Regions from separate parts of the Homo sapiens genome. Here region 2 is linked to region 1. Evidence: promoter capture Hi-C in 16 types of primary human blood cells and fetal thymus (Javierre and others, 2016). All regions are on one chromosome and are shown on one strand. Each heading gives the region's core, a stretch centred on a gene start or on the middle of the fragment in contact. The rest is flanking DNA. Distances are from core to core; before and after follow the strand shown. Region 1 holds the start of SLC27A2 (solute carrier family 27 member 2). Region 2 overlaps GALK2 (galactokinase 2).

Region 1 (2,700 bases), core at 164-2,663:
TCTGGCTGAAATGTGGCAGGAGCTAACCACAGAACTGAAAGGGTCACTATTGTGATAGATGCAGTGGGGGCTCACAACGGTCCTGTAGCAGATCCCCAGTATCTTCTCCCTGGGGATCAGGTGGGGTCACCTTTGTTCTGCAGGGAGGGGACAGGATGCTAACAGCAGTTGAGAGCTGGAAGCAACATTGAAGCCTGCCTCATTAGAGAGGAGCAAACCAAGGGACAGAGAGGAGAAGTGACTTTCCCATGATCACACAGCCAGTCAAGCAGCAGAGGTGAGAAGAGCCCCTCTGGATCCACTAGAGTTCGCACTCAAGATCCTCTGCATTTTAATGCAGATGTTATAAGTATTGATTAAGAGCTTGGAATTTGGAGATAGATGGCTGGGCATGAGGCTTCACCTCTCAGGACCTCAGTGGTCTCATCTATAAAAGTCCTATAACAAAGCCTACCCATTGTGAGGATTAAAAACCACACTGCCTGTAGAGTGCTTAACACAGAACCTAGCACATTATCAGCTTCCACAACAGGTGGTCCTAAAAGATCATTATTTGCGATTCAAGGAAACACTGCCAACCTTTTTCTATACCTACAGTTCCGATCTGAACCTCCCTCTGCGAACCCCTTATGCCACGCTGTGGCTCGTCAGTCAAGGCGCCGAGAAGCCCTGGTGCCAGGGCAGGGCGATCCTCGGGGCTCACCTGGCGACACCAGCAGCACCTTCGCCCCGCAGCACTGGAAGCAGTGCAGCAGGGACTTCGCGCGGATGTTGTAATTGAGGCACGCCATGGCACAGCCCAGCTTCACCAGCCCCAGCCACAGCCACACGTAGGCCGGCTCGTTACCCATAAGGAGCGCCACGCAGTCTCCCTGGCGCAGGCCGAGGTGGTCGTGCAGCGCCCGGGCCACTTGATTGCTGCGCCGGTCCACCTGCGCGTAGGTGAGAGTCTCGTCGCGGAAGAGCAGAAAAGGCTTGTGTGGCGTCTGGCGCGCTTTCTCCAGGAACGCCCGCAGGATGGTGCGCGCCGGCCGCCGCTTCCCGTAGCTGCGCACCCTCCGGCCCACGGCGGCCACCTTCAAGAAGTAGCCTATGTCCTGGAAGAAGTATGGGCAGCAGAGGTTCACCAGGAGCGGCAGGAACAGCAGTCCCGCCAGGACTGTGTAGATGGCGGAAAGCATGACGGCTGCGGGGCCCTCTGTCCCAGCGAGGGCAGAGGGTTCACCCCGGGCGTGCAGCGCGGCGACTGGGCGGGCTCCGGGCGGACTGGCGGGCTGCGCCGGGGCGCACGCGGCGGGACGCCGGGCTCGCGTGAGATGAAGGGGAAGACAGAGCTCCTCCGCTGCAGGTACCGCCGCGGGCTCCGGAGCAGGTGTAGTCGTATGCGCGTTGCCGGGGGTTCCGGGCAGGACTGGCCGGCTGAGCCCGCCCCCTTGTGGGGGGCAGCCACCTGCTCTCCCGGCCCTCCCACGCGGTCCTCCCGGGGCTGGGCAGGCTGCCCTGCGGCTCACCAGGAGCCTCGGCCACTTCCCAGCTCGAGTCTGGAGGTCTGGGGTCAAGTCTGGACCTCCTCGCGTTGTGACCGAAGTACTTTACCTCTAGGAGCCACGGTTTCTTTAAATGGTGATGAGACGCGCTTAGCGGACGTTGGGAATATTAAAGGAGATATTGCAGGCGTGGGGCTATTATTTGTTACCACTAATAGAATGGCTTATGGAGATGACACTGTTATTACCGATAAAGTGCCTTATAAATGTCAGACAGTCCTATTATTTATTAATAGCGGGTACCAGGTGCCACTGCCAAACCAGAATCTCATCTCTCCTTCCTGGTCCCAAGGGCTTTCCGCCTGGTCTCTCTTTGTTTCTCAGATTTGCTTCCCAGCCCGACTGCCAGGCGGTCTCCTGTAGCGAAGGCTTCAAGGTTGAACAGAAATGCCTGTGGCAGTCACGTCCAGCTCATCCCAAGCCCTGCCAGGTGAGTGAGGGCAGGACACTCTAACCTAGTCGGCCCTGCCTGGTCGGGGGAGTCCTGATTTCGTGAAGAGCAGTGCTACACCGCACCACCTGAAATCAAGCTTTGACATTATTTTACGATTTTGTTCTGTTAAGTGATCCTGCTGTTCCCTCATGTTGAAAGTTGTCAAGTGTTGTCAGCACAGTTCACACATTTAATAAGTGGCTCTGTCAGAGAATAGTATAGTACAGAGGACATTGAGTAAGTGGTATTGGCATGACTCAAAAACCATTTCTTTTAGAGGAAATGTGAACCTTTCTTTTAATTTGCCTTAGTGCTACTTCTGTACGAAGTGAATGCTCACTACTTGCCACTGAGGAGGGTCAGGATCTAAGTAGTGTTTTATTTTCATCCTCTACTGTCCTCCTGTGTTCCTCTATCTTAATTTGATACGATAAATACAGATAATGCTTATTCCTCCCAGACACGCTGCTAGGAGCTTCCCTATGTTACATTTTGGGAGCCTGAGTTATTTTATACAGGTGGCACTTTCATGCTCATTTACAGACAAGAAAGGGAAGCTTAGGTGAATTGAGACAGCCGGTAAGTAATTCGTGGGTTTTGGAAATGGTATCTGTTTGGTCCCGGGGAACCAACTCTTAGCTTATTCTTAGTAACTATACTATGCTGTCCTCCTATTCTCTAGGTTTCTGTCCATGTCCTCTTTTTTTTTCGGTGTGTGTA
Region 2 (2,700 bases), core at 164-2,663, 940 kb after region 1:
GCAACAGTAATTCAGTATTGAATTCAAGGAGTAGTGAAAGCTTCTTTCATTCCCCAGAGAACAAAAGTCTATCAATAGACTTATAATAGTTATAGAAACTACTTATGCAATTCAATTTAGTTGAGACTATATGTGACATTTTATTTAATGACTCTTAGCCACAGAGTAATTCCCTTAAATGCCTTTAATTTTCTTGCCTTGAATGTTCTTTTTCTTGAATATTAATTGATTTGAATATGGAAAAAATATAAAATTGCCTTGAATGTTCTTTTTCTTGAGTATTAATTGATTTGAACAAATATGGAAAAAATATAAAACAATTATAATCCAATTTGTCAAGTAGCAGGACAAGAAATATACAATTATCTGTGAGGTAATTTAAATCTCCATGCAGCACAACTCCAGCATTCTGTTATTATAAAAGTCCAGCCCCCAAGCAGTGACTTGTTTCTAAGGAGTGCCTTACTTTAGAAGGTTCTCTGAAAAAAAGGAGTTCCAAACATTCTCAGTTCTGTTTTACTTATGAAAAAACCTAGGCACCAAGAGATGAAGAAACTTTCCCAAGATGACACATAGGGAGACGAGAGTAGGGCCCAGGTCTCTGAATCCTGTTTGAAAACTTTTCCACTGCAGTTAGAAACCTGAGCCAGCAAACCGTCATTGTGATTTAATATGCCAGCTACATGAGAAAATCCAGATGCTTACTACAGTTTATAGATACAGTTTAGCCATATGGTAGCTTTAAAGATAGTCAAATTAGAATTCAGCCACAAATGAGAATACAGACCCTAAACAAGTTGAGGAAACTCTATTTCTACAAATAGGAAAGCCCAAAGAAATAATCAGATTCTGATTTAAATATGGAAAGCTCTAGTATACTTACATTACTTTCTAACACTAGGACACTTTGGATGATATCATATCATAACCTTTGTGGTTTAAGTTTACAAATAAATTCAAGTCTACCTCCTTCTCAAGAAAAAGTACCATAGTCTTTGCAAATTACTCAAATGACTGAAGATTAACATATGAAATACTATTACCTAATTATGCATTTCATCATACCTATTATACAAGGGAGAATTTCAATCAGCTAGCTAGAATAACTAAAATAACAACAAAATTCTGCAAATAAAAGACCTTTTTCCTTAATTTTTTGTCTGTCTGTCCTAGCTAGCAAAATTCTCGCACCACAATAAGAAGAAATTTAGCTGGGTGTACTTCTCTTCCTGATTTCAAGTCATCTAAAAATTTCCTTCCAGATATACAAACAAACTATAAACTGAAACTCTACTGTTGCCAATGCCCTTTCATACAGAATATCAGACAGCTTGTTTAAAAAAAAAAATTGAAGAATACAATATATTTAATATAAACTGATCAAACACAGGTGTCTTGAGTGGGAATCACACTTAAGAACTTATCAGCCGGGCGCAGTGGCTCACACCTGCAATCCCAGCACTTTGGGAGGCCGAGGCGGGTGGGTCACGAAGTCAGGAGTTCAAGACCAGCCTGGCCAATATAGTGAAACCCCGTCTCTACTAAAAATACAAAAATTAGCCAGGCGCGGTGGCAGGCACCTGTAATCCCAGCTACTAAGGAGGGTGAGGCAGGAGAATCGCTTGAACCCCGGGGGCAGAGGTTGCAGTGAGCCGAGATCACGCCACTACACTCCAGCCTGGGCGACAGAGCAAGACTCCGTCTCAAAAAACAAAAACAAAAACAAAAACAAAAAAACAAAAACAAAAAACAACGTATTATGCAATGTTTAAATGAAAATGTATAACAAATTCAAAATGCAAATGGGTATATGCCACATTCTGTAATAGCTCTATGCCAAAAGGATAACATGTTCAATGTAATATAAGTGAATTATTCTCTGAAACTTTCTAGTATTTGAATTTGAAAGTTTCTGAACAGGCTAGCATTTAAATTACCTTTCTGCCAAAAGTTCATTGTATAAGTTTGCTTTTGCACATAAATTGTCAAACCAAACAGGAAGGCTTTAAAACCTGAAATGCTCAAAAATAACACAAAGCAACATGCATTATTTAGGCCACTTTACCCATATGCTGCAAAAAGGCATGTTGTTACAAGGAAGATTAAAATTGCATTTGCCAGGCAAATGCTTCCAAATACTGTAATTCCCACTAATGCATATGATAAGCCAGATGATTTGAAGATTTAAAACCTGCCAATAACTTTTCCTGTAAGTTATTACCATGTGTCTGAGAGAAAGGAAAACACAAAAGAAAGAAAGAAATGAATTCATTAACTTTAAGAACAAAAACCACCACTGTTACAGTATAGGACTACACATTAGAAATAAATTTGATGTATTTCTGTAATGGATGTGCCACTAAGTCCTAGCTGCTCATTACAAAGTTTCAGATAGGACTGCCAGGCAGTAAGGAACACAAGCTCTCTAAAACATGGGTCAGTTTGTTTGTTTACTTTTAGCTCACAAAGGCAAAATTTACTTCTTATTGTCCTACTATGATTCTATGCAAGTCACTACATCTAAAATAATTATTGCAATATAAAAGTGGCTCTAAAAACAGCAAATATCAATTTTCTTTTGGTCCTTGATACTTTTTCAATTATGAGAGTGAAAACATTTTATTTTCTTGTTCTTGTATGTAACATTAGAGATTTTCAAAGTAATTATTCAATGTTTCTTGGAAAATACTTATACTAATA

What was found. The method cuts DNA at HindIII sites, captures the fragments that hold promoters and counts their contacts. A CHiCAGO score of 5 or more calls a contact.
Region 2: a fragment that was not itself captured here is called in contact with the fragment with the promoter of SLC27A2 in region 1 in 3 of 17 cell types (megakaryocytes, monocytes and erythroblasts); the score reaches 11.3 in megakaryocytes.

What each region holds. Positions count from the first base shown.
Region 1 is chr15:50,180,909-50,183,608 of GRCh38, reverse strand. SLC27A2 (solute carrier family 27 member 2) reads right to left here and starts at 1,413. Exons shown (of 10, transcript NM_003645.4): 1 at 704-1,413. The coding sequence starts at 1,181. It also overlaps a transcript of ATP8B4 not described here. RefSeq lists silencers at 812-911, 1,182-1,521. The HindIII fragment of the contact is 4,085 bases long and covers 1-2,079 here.
Region 2 is chr15:49,236,500-49,239,199 of GRCh38, reverse strand. All of the region lies in intron 4 of GALK2 (galactokinase 2), which reads right to left. Among named protein-coding and RNA genes, the nearest start is that of GALK2, 68 kb to the right of the region's middle. The HindIII fragment of the contact is 2,742 bases long and covers 43-2,700 here.